5 separate regions of the Homo sapiens genome follow, and regions 1, 2, 3 and 5 are each linked to region 4. Evidence: promoter capture Hi-C in 16 types of primary human blood cells and fetal thymus (Javierre and others, 2016). All regions are on one chromosome and are shown on one strand. The core of a region is centred on a gene start or on the middle of the fragment in contact, and the rest is flanking DNA. Distances in the headings are between cores, read along the strand shown.

Region 1 (2,700 bases), core at 198-2,697, 790 kb before region 4:
AAGAACGTAGACATACCTGACCAGACAAAAGCTTTCCAAGTGTTAGGAGACAGGAAGTAAATAAAGTAGAAAACTGCAGAATTTGTGTTTGCATTAGTAACTTTCAAGTTAAATCTCAATTTTGAAAAGCAGGGCTTCTTCATTGGAGTTAACGCCCTTTGTGAGTAGAACTACAAAGCATAGTAAGAGGAAGGGGAGAACAGTGTAAGGGGGTGAATGCAAATGACAAAGGGATTAGTAGGAAGGAGTTAGAACCCAAGATAAATGCAGATAGGAAGAGGAAAGCATGTTTGGATTGTTTTTTTCAAGTGGCACTCAGAAATAAAAGTTTGGAGAAACATGGCTCTGAAGCTCTGACAAATTTGCATTTGCAAAAATAACTCCTACAAGACTTTCAGAAGTCTAGGAAAATTGTGGCTTTTGGATTATTACATTACCAAATTTGTGGAGTTTAATAGGTTTCAACTGTCAATGTGCATTAAAATTTCCTGGGAGCAGGGGGATGGGCTTTTAAATTCTGATGTCCAGGTGTGTGCTCCAGGCCTACTAAATCTCTGGGGTTGGGACTCTTCGTTGTTTTTTAAGTTGCCATAATTCCAATTTTTGGCCCAAATTGTGAACTACTCACCAAAGGCAAAACAAAACAAAAAACCCTGTGTGATAAAGAGGGGTGAGGATTAGGAAAGGACACGGGTTTCAAGAAACGGTGGCTGGGTGGCTGGCCAATAAGTTTAGTAGAGGGATGACTGTATATGTCAGAATTAAGTGCAGTAAGAGGATGTGTGAGTGGTATGTTTTCATCAAAGAACTGAAGGCAGCTAAAAGGGCCAAGGTGTACCCTCATTAAAGTCTAGGCCCCAGAGTAAAGAAGGCACCCAAAGAGTCATCTGGTGGTTAGGGAGGGGGAAAATTCCTTGTTATCAACGCATGTTACAGTGAGCTGTTAAAGCTATAGTACTGTCAGTAACACTTCGTGGCGATGGAAGTGTTTTATGATGCATTGACCAGTATAACAACTGGTGACTTTACTGAGCCTTGAGATGTGGCTAGTGTGAAGAGTTAGATTTAAATTTTTATTTAGAGACGTGTGACGTGAGACTACTTTATTGGATAGTTAAGTGCTGTAGAATATTGAGAAGTTTCCACACAAGTACTGCTAGTGGTTACTAACTCAAACGTACATGAACAAATGTGACTCCAATATTTTGTGTGTCCTGAGTTCATTGATGTTTTCTTTCCTAGACCTTAGGCTTTAATATTGAAGATTTCCCTAGTGAGGGCGTCTTCAATGGGACGATATTGCAGGCTTAATCCATGTTGCTCACACCTTCATATAGCAGTGCCTCTTACAGAATAAACTATTGTTAAATAGGAACCCATCTTGTCAATCAGTTGCTTCATGCCCAGGGAAGAGAGTATGTTTTATAGGCTTTGTGTGCAGCCTGTTAGGCCAGCGTTTAATTGACATAGACTGTTGTTTCTCAAACAACAGTTCTATTACGTACGTATGCAAATAATTTCTGTGCTTCAAGGAGCTTCAGAGAGATTGCCTTGTTCAAAGCCCTATGGTTATTCAAATGGTAGAGCCAAAAATTTGATCTATGTTCTGACTTAACTCCATGGGCTTTGGACCTTGGCAGAGGAAATGGTGTCTTTGAACTGTAGTCTGTAGTCCTAGAAATTGAATAAACTATTTCCTAAATAGAGGTAAGAGACTAGGATCCTAGCAACTTCTCTAAGTTAACAAAAGGGGAAAAATATCCCCATACCATTTTTCTCTTCATTCTATTAATGAGGGCTAGAGTCGTTTCATAGATTGAATAGTTTCAAGAGCATATTGAGCAGTGCCTGGCTAACAGCTGAAAGTCTGCCATTTCATGCAACTTTGTTAGGCTTTAGAAGTGAAGCAGGAATATAGAGAAAATACAGCTTCTCCCACCCACAACGTGTATTTTAAACCATTTCTTCTGGCCCAGAAGACAAACTTTTCCAAATATCTTGGGAAAACCACAGTTTCTACTCTTTGGAGACAAGAGTCTCACTCTCACACCCAGGCTGGAGTGCAGTCTCAACTCACTGCAACCCCTGCTCTCAGGTTCAAGTGGTTCTCCTGCCTCAGCCTCGTGAGTAGCACTCGACACCACACCTGGCTAATTTTTTTGTGTTTTTTGTAGAGATGGGGTTTCGCGTGTTGGTCAGGCTGGTCTTGATCTCTGGCCACCTCAGCCTTCCAAAGTGCTGGTATTACAGGTGTGAGCCACTGTGTCTAGCCAAGTTTCTACTCTTGATGCCTGCCATGGACTATTACAAGCACCTGGCAGTGACATTGCACGAGTTCTAAAGAAAGACTTGGTCTTTCCCACAGGGACATTAATGTGAAAGAGGTCCAGTGACAAAGATTCAGTCACTTTTGCAGACCCTCACAAGCCACAATAATGAAGTTGCAGTGAATTTGGGACATAGCCTTCCCTCCCCAAAATTCTTGATCCAAGAATCCACCCGTCAAGTTCAATGACTCAGACTCCATTTCTAGTGTGGTCGTTGGTTAACAACTTTACTAGTTTCCATCCAGGCTTAACCTTTCTATGGACCATAATGTCTTGGTGTCTGCTGCATTTATTGTCCCTCCCTGTTTTAAGGATACTTAAGTTTTTAAAGAGGCATAAATACTTCAAAGTCCCCATTGGCCCTCCTGGGGGA
Region 2 (2,700 bases), core at 1-2,500, 600 kb before region 4:
CCCGGGGCACACCATGGAGGTCTCCTGTTGAATGGCCCTTGTTGCCCTAGAGTGGGACCCAGCCCTCACCTCCCCCAGAGCTAACCTGGGAGGTGCTGAAGGGGCATTGGGCCACCGTAAGCAAGGGAAAAAGGGCAGATCATGCGGGGAGATGACCTTGATCTTTGATTGCTACCCTAACCTTGACCTTTAACCCGTGATTCCCCCCAGCTCCTGGAAGAGATGTCCTAATATCTCTTAGGGACCCAGACCCCTAAATTCTCCTCCTCCCCCATTTTGATGTTAAGGTGGAGAGGGCATATGCATCCTCTGTCCTGATCTAGGTGTCTATAGCTGAGGGGTAAGAGGTTGTTGTAGTTGTCCTGGTGCCTCCATCAGACTCTCCCTACTTGTCCCATATTTGCAAGGGGAGGGGATTTGGGGCTGGGGCTCCATTCACCAAAGCTGAGGTGGCTTCTCATTAACCCTTTAGGACTCTGAAGGGTATGGACCTACGTGAATGTGTGTCAGGGGGAGACTTGCTGGTGGGTTAGTGGTCCTCAGGATGTGATAGAAACATCCAGTGTAAAAAGGAAGTTGGAATGGGAGTTGGCGGGCAGTGAACGAGTGTGGGGAAGGATTGGTGCTGGGGCAACAGGAAGGGGCCTGGGGCCGTTTGGCTGCACTAACTTTGGTAGCTCAGTGTGCATCTAGAGTGGGACTGGGGAGGGAGCTAAGCTTGGGCTGGGCTGCTTGGGGCTTGGCATAGGGTGGAAAGGGCTACCCTGGGGCTCTGACCACACTGTAGTATGTGTGGAGGGTGCCCTCCCGTCTCCCACAACTTCTGCTATAACAATAAACTGTAGAGGAATCTGAGTACCGTTATTATTCTTTGTCTAGGTGTGCCTGCATCATGCTCCTCTTCCTATCTTCTCCCTGTCCACGTCTCATATTCTCTTCTCAAAGTGATATAAACCCTGGGAGAGGGCCTTTGTGGCATAGGCACTTCACAAAATATGACCACATAGAAACTGGCTCTTTTCCAATACAACGGTGTTGCCTTGATATTGTAGTATTTTTAAGCCTGGGAGAGAGGAACCATTTAGATCTTAGGAGACTTCCTTATCAACTATGGGTAACTGAGAAAGGCCACAGGATTTCAGAGATACCACCAACATCACCACCTTTAAGAAAGAATTGAAGAGGCTGGGCAAGGTGGCTCGCATCTGTGATCCCAACACACTTGAGAAGCTGAGGTGGGCAGACCACTTGAGCTCAGAAGTTTGTGACCAGCCTGGGGAACATGGTGAAACCCCGTCTCTGCAAAAAATACAAAAATTAGCTGGGCTTGATGGTGCACACCTGTAGTCCCAGCTACTAGGGAGGCTGAGGTGGGAGGATCACTTGAGCCCAGGAGGTGGAGGTTGCAGTGAGCCACGGTCACACCACTGCACTCCAGCCTGGGCGACAGAGTGAGACTCCATCTCAAAAAAAAAAAAAAAAAAAATTGAAGAAGACTGATGACAGAAGTGCCCAAGGATATCTTGAGACCCACCTTCCTGTAGGATCCTCCCTAGGGGGTCACCTAGATTCCATTTTGGATGTTTTAGTGCAATCAGTAGACCAGGGTGCATGAACTTAACTGTAAGGGGTGGGCTGCTCATAGTTCATTCTGATCTGAAGACTCTTTCAGGAGGGGTGCAGCAAAAAGGAGGATTTATCTTGAGAATTCCTCTTCCCTCATGGAATCCAAGGGATCTGGGAGCTAATTAAGTCTATGTTTGTGGTTTATTAGGAAGCTTTTTCACAACTATGAACAATGAAGAGGAATTCTTATTTTGCAGCTGTTGCAGGCTGATTCTTAGGGTCTTGAGGCACAAGAAGTAAAAATGAGGAGGCACCTTGTAGCATTATTGACAACACTACTGTGATGGACTATTACAAGGTCTTTTGCTAGATTGCTTTACAGAAACTCCACAGGCAATTATACCCTTTCCTCAATGAAACTGAGCTGAGGACTAATGCACTTGATGTCTGGTGCTGACACACTGATTGACATGGAAATAGGATATGGAATATGCCCTTGATTCTTGAGCATTTCATCACTGTCCTTCATAGAACTGGGTCTATTTTAAATGTGGTAGGCCAGGGTCAGAAGGGGAAGCGGAGGTATTGGGTAACAAACAGGGTTATGGAGCTCGCTATTGGATGCTGAGGGTGTTGGGTGACCACACGCAGGGCAGGCAGCAGAGTGCGAAGCACCACACTGAAGAAAAGAAGCGGCATAATTGGAATCAGTGGGGACCAACTAGCTTCTCGGAAAAACACAAGGAAAAGGCAAAAACCTATAACCAGCATCAATCTTTACTGGCAATAGCTGCTGTTGTGTATTATGGATGGGAAGGCAAGTCTTTTCTGCATATCTGCCTACATAGATAACACTGTCAGCAGGGCAATCTCTACAAATGGGAGCACATTACATGTATGTGTAGATAGGTGAGTGTGTGCATACACATCTATCATGTAGGTGGGTGTGTCAAATGGGTGATGACTGTGTGTCTTTCCCATAGATGTCTCTGCATAAGAAATCTGAGTTTGGTAGAGAGAAAGATGCCCTCTGCTGGGAGCTAGTCGTGGGGTGGGGGTTTTGTCCTTGACTGACCTCTCTACTCTGTTGGAGAGCGACGAAAAGCTCAAGAATCAAGAGCATATTCCATGTCC
Region 3 (2,700 bases), core at 165-2,664, 640 kb before region 4:
TATTAACATTTCTGAGCTATTTCAGAACAAGTTACAGACATGATGCTCATTACCCCTTAATACTTCAGTGACTATTTCCTAATTACAAGTACTCTCGTGTGCATAACCACAGTACAGCCACCAAAAAGGGGAAATTGACATTGATCCATTATTATTATTACCACAAATGAAATTTAAAGATAGCATATAAAACACTCATATGCACGGCTATTTTATAAATATTAGTTAAGTGAAAGAAGCTTCAGAGAAAGCCCAAGCTCATTGGGCACTACTTTAGGTGTTTTAGTTCATCTTCCTCTGTGGTTACTAGCACTTCAGGGGAAATTCTGGGAAGCATTGCTCTGCAGGTTCTAGTTGACCATGAAGATCCTGTTCTGGATATGCCAAATTCAAGGGTAAAAAGTGGTAACCCTTACCAAAGATAAATGCTTGGGATATCTCAGGCCCACCCGGAGCTCCACCAAACAGGATCTCTGTAATGTTTTCACCCTGGTCCGGAGTAGCAGATGGGAGGTCCAGGCCCTTTTTCTTGTTGCATATCCTTATTTATGTTTCCAGCAGCCAATGGCACGGCCAGGGACATGCTTGACTAGTTTGCCATCAATTCCTCATGTACTGTTTTTTTCCCATCTCAATGATACAATATGAGCATTCAGGTGAAGGTCAGAAATGCAACGTGTCAGGATTACGGGCACTTAATACTCTTTTGGATGAACATGCTTTTGTCTCAAATCCGGGGGTCTGCCCATTTGCAGATTGATTTGCCAGTCCATGTATGATTTGATCTTGAAAGATATCTGGGCTGGGCACAGTGGCTCACCTGTAATCCCAACACTTTGGGAGGCCAAGGCAGGCAGAACATGAGGTCAGGAGTTCAAGAGCAGCCTGACCAACATGGTGAAACCCAGTCTTTACTAAAAATACAAAAATTAGCCGGGCATGGTGGTGCATACCTGTAATCTCAGCTACTCAGGAGGCTGAGGTAGGTGAATCGCTTGAACCTGGGAGGCCAAAAAGCTCAACAAGGTTGCAATGAGTCGAGATCGTGCCACTGCACTCTAGCCTGGGTGACAGAGCAAGACTCTATCTCAAAAAAAAAAAAAAAAGAAGAAAGATGTCTGAGATCCATTTGATATTGAATGCCACTTTGTAAATATCACAAGGCTTGTTCAAAAAAGCCCGAGTTCTTGCCTAAATTATTCATGTAATCTTGGGCAAAGTGTTTAAGTCCTCAGGGTTATTTTGCTCATTTGCAACATGAGGAAGGCATGACTAGATGATCTCCGAGAACACTGGACAAGATGTCTTGCAGCATTATAATGTTATGATTACTACTGGGAGAGCCCTAAAGCCATGGAGATAGGAAATTTCATCTTGTGCTAAATGCCACGACCCAAGCAGGAATTTGTACTAATTCACACCACAGTTAGTTTATGTTTTAAATGTGTAAGTTCAACTAAGTTTCTATGAAAAAACCATAGAAAGTAATGACCACAATGTTTTTCTGCTATAACCAATCCACTGGACATGAGTCACAGGCGTTGGTGGAGGTTTTGAGTGATGAAAAATGAACCAGAAAATGGAGCTGAATCAGAGGGTGGGAAAAATATAAGAGGCTTCCACGATGGAAGTGAGGGGATAGTAAGCCTTCCTAAGGACTAATTTAAATATCTCAGGAGGGGAAGTTGGAAATGTCACTAGAGCCCTGTCTCCATCAATTGCTGCAATAATCAAATCCTTTGGATGGGAGGGAATACAGAGGGCACCCTCAAAAGTTAGTGGTCCTAAGTCCTCCAACTTATTTTCATATCTTTGGATTCATAAATTCACAGAGGTTGCAGAGGAGAAAAACTTCCCTTAAGTAATCTTAACAGAAATTCTCCAAAGCCCCCTTTTACTTCTCCTTCAACTCAAAGTACCCATCCATTCCTCCCAAATAACCTTATCTACAGAAACTAATACATATTGTCCTTTTTGTCTGACCTTGAACCTTCCCTTATCTACTCTTGGCTAGGAGCTTTTTGGCAAGAGGCGGATGAGGAGGAGTTTGGCCTCCCTTGTTTAAATCCTTTGTTCTTCTGTCACGGAAGTCAGGCCTGCTCCATTCATCACAGGTTTGACCACTCAACATTTGACACCACAATGATAAATAGAAATGCTAACACCATTCAAACTTTCCCTACATGCTAGTCACTGTACTAAGTGCTTTATATGTATTGTTACTTTTAATCCACATTATACTCTTGTGAAGTGGTAGTGAAGATCCATGTCCCTGAAGGTATTCAAGCCCAAAAACCATCTGTTGGTAACATTATTGCCAGGCGCATTGGCTCACACCTGTAATCTCAGCAGTTTTGGGAGGCTGAGGAGAGTAGATCACCTGAGCTCAGGAGTTTGAGATCAGCTTATATAGATGGGGAAACTCCCACCTCCCTAAGCTAAGAGGCGTTCTATCACAGTGTGTATTTTCATCACGAGCACACATTTTTATTTACCTTTCCTCTTATGAACTGTGGACTTCTTACAAGATCTCATTAGCAATGTGGGCTTTCTCATGTCCCTGTGGCTCCGTGGATGTTCCCAAGCTTACTGGTTTTGGAGTCTTGCACAGGTAAGCATCCTGATAAGAGCTATAACTGCTCTTCTTTTTGCCCATTCATGGTGGGGTGGGGGTAGGGGGAGGACATTAGAATGAAGCTC
Region 4 (2,700 bases), core at 81-2,580:
TTGTCTTTAAATTTTGGTTTAAAATTGTGCGTGGGGGTAAGTTACATTCTTTACGAATTATGTTTCAGAAAAATAAAAAGAGCTTTAAAATATTTGTTATAAAAAGGAAATGTTTTAGTTCAGGTTGCTATAACAAATTACCGTAGACCGGGTGGCTTAAACAACAAATATTATTTCTCACAGTTCTAGAGAATGGAAGTCCAAGATCAGATTGCCAGCATGGTCTGCCTCTGAAGATGAGGGTCTTCCTTGGGATTGCAGATGGCTGTTTTCTTGTATCCTCATATCGTGGAAAAAGAGCTAGCTAGCTCTTCCGTCTCTCCTTATGAGGCCACCAATCCCATTTATGAGTATTCTAAACTCCATGACCTAATGACCTCCCAGAGATCCCACCCTAAATACCATCGCATTGGGATTAGGGTTTCAATATATAAATTTTGGGGAGACACAAACATAAAGACCATTGCAGGGAGTGTTGGGACTGGTGGCAATAGAGGTTTCTAAGGAAGGAAAGGGGTACTGGCTCAGTTAATAGAGGACAGAATGCCCTCAATTCTGAGCGGAAGCTCAGCTGTTACCTGAGACTCAAGGGTACCTCTCTAAGGAAAGCAATGATATTTTCCAGAAGACAGCTAATCTGCTTTATATAAAGGCAGAAAGCATATTTCTCCTGCTACTATGTTTGGTCCTCTCTTTATGAAGCTAGGATTATTAACCTAAGGGTCACTTGTCTCTTTCCTAAGCCTGGTTCCATCTTCCTGGAAAGGGTTCAGCATTAATCATTCAGGATGGCTCCAGATAGATTCTGTGTGATCCACGGATCTCTCTTCTGATCAACAGGAGGGGAGGCACTTGCTCTCAGTTCAGCGAACTTTGATTGACTGATGTCTACACTTGGTTACAGGCGGTTGCTTTCCGCTTTCCGTCTCCTTTTAAGGAGTTCCTCAAAGGAACTTTAGGATGAATTGAGTCTGACCGTCTTTGATATTAGGAAGGAGAGGTGTACAGCTAGGCAGCGAGCATGCTAAAATCTTTTCCAGGAAACGGTGTTTGAAGAGTTAATGGGAGAAAAAAAGACGAAAATTAGCCAGAGGAGACGAATTTGGTAGAGGGGGAAGCCCTAGGGACAGGAGAAAATAGGACCAGAAAGGGAAAAAAAATAGAAACAATAACAAACTAAACTCGGGCCCCAGAAAAGGCGGCAGGGGTCCTGGGCATTCGCGTCGCAGCCCTGGCATGTCGTCTTGCCCGGCCCTCGGCTCGCTGCCCTTCCAGCAGCTGCTGCGCCCCGCCCGGGCCCGAGAGTCTCCGCCCGCACCGTCTCTTCTCAGATCCGCATCCGGCTCCTCCCCCGGCTGCCACCCTTCCCACCGGCAGAATCCAGAGCGAAGTTTCTGCTTCCTGCTGCGGGAATCGGACGCCCCAGGTCAGGCACCCAGGGTTTCCAGCCCCAGTCTAAGGTAGGGTCCGAGCGCAGGCAGAACTTGCCCTGGCCCTGGGTCTAGGGCGCTGGGCTCTGAGGCTGAGAGCTGGGTGGGAAGTGCCTGGCGGGGCCGGTTAGGAACCACCCGAGACTCAGCTAGGGGTGCATCCACCCTGCTCCTCCCGGCGGCTCCGGGAAGGGGAGGGAGTGTATACTGCGTGAAAGGGGAGGTGAGAAAGGAGGAGGAGAAGGCTGAAGGAGAGGGAGGGACAGGAAGAGAGACCACGTAAGAATCATCCCCTCTTACTTCCTTGCCCTGTGTGCCCATCGAAAGGGGACAGTGGCTGTCACCAACAAATGGTAGTATGAGAACCGTTTGTGATAATAGAAACCCAGACTGTGCTTAAATGTGCTAGACTACCATACAGCCACTTGAAGAGTGAGGTGGAGGCCGGGCGCGGTGGTTCACGCCTGTAATCCCAGCACTTTGGGAGGCGGAGGTTGGGGATCACCTGAGGTCAGGAGTTTGAGACCAGCCTGACCAACATGGTGAAAACCCTCTCTACTGAAAATACAAAAAAATTAGCCGGGCATGGTGGTGGGCGCCTGTAATCCCAGTTACTCGGAAGGCTAAGGCAGGAGAATCGCTTGAACTCGGCAGGCAGAGATTGCAGTGAGCTGAACAACAGAGCCAGACTCCGCCTCAAAAAAAAAAAAAAAAAAAAAAGGAAAGAGTGAGGTGGGTATTAATGTGTTAACAGGGCAAGGTCTCTGAGATATACTAAGTGCAGAATAGCATCTAACTTATGATCCTGTTTGTGTAAAGCAAAAGCAAAAGCAGTGGTGATGGTGAAGGCATGTATTTGCATATGCATAGAAACTGTGAAACTGTTAGTATAAAACTGTGAGCAATGTTTACTTCCAGAGAAGGGAACTAGAGATGGAAGTGGGGACGGAACTTTAACTTTCCATTTGTGGTTCAGCCGAATCTCCTTTCAAAAACTCCAGGGTGCAAAACAATAAAATGAGCAAAATAGTGAGACTGTCCTTTTAAGGATAGGACAGTCTCACTATGTTGCTCAAATAAACTGTCCTTATTTTTCTGTTTATTTTTGGCTTGAGATCTCTTTTAAAAAAAATCTGAGTCAATTCTGAGTTTCCCCACTCCTTTCCTTGGGGGCTTATATAGGGCAACGACATGAGCAAAGTGTATTGGGCACAGAAGCCATCATTTTTTACGTGTTTGTCACACTGACGTCCAGTGAGATATTGTTGTC
Region 5 (2,700 bases), core at 176-2,675, 580 kb before region 4:
AGTTCAGTACTATTTAGCAAGTATCTACTGAACTACTGTGAGCCAGGTACTGTGAGGTGTGCAGGGAATGCAAGATGAATAAATGGTAGTGTCAAGGAGCTCACAATCATGAAACTAACTTGATGAATTATATTTACCCTCTTATCCCAGAAGAGGGTTTCAGTACTGGGCAGGGACCATCCAGGGACTTTATTTTACCTGAATAAAAACTTAGAAGGTCCTAATCCAGTGGACTTGCAGAAAAAAATAAATATCTAGATTTTAACAGTATATTGGTAGCCAGGCGCGGTGGTTCATGCCTGTAATCCTAGCACTTTGGGAGGCCAAGGTGGGCGGATCACCTGAGGTCAGAAGTTCGAGACTAGCCTGGCCACCATGATGAAACCCCGTCTCTACTAAAAATACAAGTAGCCGGGTGTGGTGGTGCACGCCTGTAATCCCAGCTACTGAAGAGGCTGAGGCAGGAAAATCACTTAAACCCGGGAGGCGGAGGTTGCAGTGAGCCGAGATCGAGCATTACACTTCAGCCTGGGTGACAGAGCAAGACTCTGTCTCAAAGCAAAAACAAAACAACAAAACAAACAAACAAACAAAAAACAGTATACTGGGACATTCTGACCTTTACCTAAGCAATCTCTAAAATAATCTACCTTCTTTTAGTAAGGCATCATTGTAACAACTGCTGCTCTGGTTAGAAAGTCAAATAAGAGACTTCAGTATCTGAGAGATTGTAGAATTATTTCTTACTCTTCATTTCTAACCGATATTTCAATCTCGCCCACTTTTTAATTATTCTTAAGTCCTACCTGGGTTTTCCAGGAATTTTTTCTCAAGATGCCTAGCCCGTCTTTGCAACTCCTCTGGCTCTACAGGCAAATGTCTGCTCCAGAGATAACTGGTCAGTGTTTGCACCTGATTCTCCATAGTGGGCCCAGCGCTCCCTATGGGCCAAAGACGAAAAGCGGAATCACTTGCATGTAGGTCCAGTCCCGTTTCTTCTCGCTTTCCCGCCGTTACTCACCAAGTAGCAATAACTGGGCACCGTTAGCCAGTGCCTGTGGCAGCCGCACGTGCGGCAGCTTTAGGATGCCAGGGTGCTGGCGATGAGGCCTCTTCTGCAGGAAACCGGACTTGTTATCTACCTGGGTCACTCCGGGTACTAAGGCGGCGAGCGCCTGCAGGCAGAGAAAGGTAGGTTGATTTCCTGGCAGAAAGGAAAGTTGCTGGCAATCGCTAGGGCGGGGGCTGCCAGGAGCGCTCCTCCTCTGCGCGGAGATGTCTCTGCAGATCCAGAGTCTCTCCGACAGCAGGGAATGTAGGCACTCACCCGGGCCTGGGGAGCCACTCCAAGGCCGGGGCACCATCTTCCTAATGTCAGTAGACACTTCAGTGCCGCCGCCATGGCTCCGGAGGCGAACCGGAAACGGAAATACAGGTGCCTGTGACCCTCAGTCCCAACGCCGCAAGGAGCAGCCTTCGCAGAACTTCTCCCGACAGTTTCAGCCAACGAGAAGAGCGAGTGTTTGCCAGCAGCCAATAAGCAATGGTTATATAAATAATCCTTGAGGCAGAAACCGTGTTTGGGCCGACTTGAAGGCTGCGTTGGGCCTGGTCACCGGCCCCAGAAATCAAGAGGGTGGGGTGGGGCGGGGCGGGACGGGACGGGGGCGGGATGGGGTTGGGTGTGAGCGCGCCAGCAAAGACTGTTTCTGGGAGTACTGACTTCCTGTGTTCTTTGCATTCCTCCGCGGAGAACTCTGAGTCTTGGGTTGTTTCCCTGTGTGAAAAAGGGAGACTGCAGTAACGGAAAGAAGAGAAAAATCAGATTTAAGCGACTGAAGAAAACAGAAATTAATAGTTAAATGATTATTGAATAGTTAATAGTTTGATAAATATTAAACCTAGTTAATAGGTTTATTTATTTTTTTACATTTGTTAATTTCTCTTCAAATGAGACCAGTCTTCTTAGTAAGCTAACATAACACTTACTGAGAACACCTATGTGCTAGGTACTTCAGGGAAAAGGACTGATCCCCACTTCACAGAAAACATGGTTCTGACGGGGACCCTCCTGTGTCTGCTGCTACGTCAGAGTGTTTCCCCCAGGCCCAGGACTTAGACAGTAGCCGTCTGATTACCTGAGGTGCAGAATCTCAGGTGGGTCCAGCCACTATTGTGACGTGATAATATAGCATAGGGGAATGGTCTCCAGAGTCTGCAAGCTCATCAACACCTTCATTCACTAGAGCATCAGAAGGATAAATGGCATATGCAAGGCGATATCTACTTTCGGGACCTGACAGTGGACAACTGCTACCTCAGTCTCCGAACACTTGAGCTCACCCAGTGTGTGATTTCTGTGGGCTCCTGGCCCCCTAATTTCCGTTACAGGTTTAGGATGTTCTCCCAGCACATCCACTTGACCTGTGTGTGGAACCAGCCAGTTCATCTGGAGGGCTAGACTCCTGAGTCATCAGGCTAGGGCCTGATGATCTCAGGCCCCAGCGCCCTAATTGGACTTTCCTTCTGTGGTTCTCTACCTTATTCGACTTCTTCCCCAAATCTGCAGACCTCACCGACTGCAGCCTGCCAGCTCTCTCAGGGCTCCTCATCTCGGGGTGAGGTGGGGTGAGGAGACATGGGTGGACAGGGGGAGAAGGGCCGCTCTGCCTCTTCCAGGCGGAACCGCCCTTCCTGTAG

The links. The method cuts DNA at HindIII sites, captures the fragments that hold promoters and counts their contacts. A CHiCAGO score of 5 or more calls a contact.
Region 1: a contact is called between a fragment that was not itself captured here and the fragment with the promoter of TEP1 in region 4, in 1 of 17 cell types (monocytes). The highest score is 5.5, in monocytes.
Region 2: a fragment that was not itself captured here is called in contact with the fragment with the promoter of TEP1 in region 4 in 1 of 17 cell types (monocytes); the score reaches 5.1 in monocytes.
Region 3: a fragment that was not itself captured here is called in contact with the fragment with the promoter of TEP1 in region 4 in 1 of 17 cell types (M1 macrophages); the score reaches 5.9 in M1 macrophages.
Region 5: a contact is called between the fragment with the promoter of METTL17 here and the fragment with the promoter of TEP1 in region 4, in 1 of 17 cell types (monocytes). The highest score is 5.2, in monocytes.

What each region holds. Positions count from the first base shown.
Region 1 is chr14:21,204,439-21,207,138 of GRCh38, reverse strand. It overlaps LINC00641 (long intergenic non-protein coding RNA 641), which reads left to right and starts at 239. Exons shown (of 2, transcript NR_038971.1): 1 at 239-528. The HindIII fragment of the contact is 2,828 bases long and covers 34-2,700 here.
Region 2 is chr14:21,014,927-21,017,626 of GRCh38, reverse strand. NDRG2 (NDRG family member 2) reads left to right here. Exons shown (of 16, transcript NM_001320329.2): 16 at 1-855. The coding sequence ends at 31. Among named protein-coding and RNA genes, the nearest start is that of MIR6717, 7.1 kb to the left of the region's middle. The HindIII fragment of the contact is 1,061 bases long and covers 720-1,780 here.
Region 3 is chr14:21,048,173-21,050,872 of GRCh38, reverse strand. LOC105370398 (a long non-coding RNA gene) reads left to right here and starts at 2,178. Exons shown (of 4, transcript XR_943588.3): 1 at 2,178-2,611. It also overlaps a transcript of NDRG2 not described here. The HindIII fragment of the contact is 2,346 bases long and covers 242-2,587 here.
Region 4 is chr14:20,412,131-20,414,830 of GRCh38, reverse strand. It overlaps TEP1 (telomerase associated protein 1), which reads left to right and starts at 1,330. Exons shown (of 55, transcript NM_007110.5): 1 at 1,330-1,426. RefSeq lists enhancers at 1,127-1,176, 1,677-1,746, 2,297-2,466, 1,576-2,492. The HindIII fragment of the contact is 9,686 bases long and covers 1-2,700 here.
Region 5 is chr14:20,988,705-20,991,404 of GRCh38, reverse strand. It overlaps METTL17 (methyltransferase like 17), which reads right to left and starts at 1,425. Exons shown (of 14, transcript NM_022734.3): 1 at 1,328-1,425; 2 at 1,022-1,175; 3 at 807-941. The coding sequence starts at 1,402. RefSeq lists an enhancer at 849-898 and a silencer at 1,649-1,778. The HindIII fragment of the contact is 15,587 bases long and covers 1-2,700 here.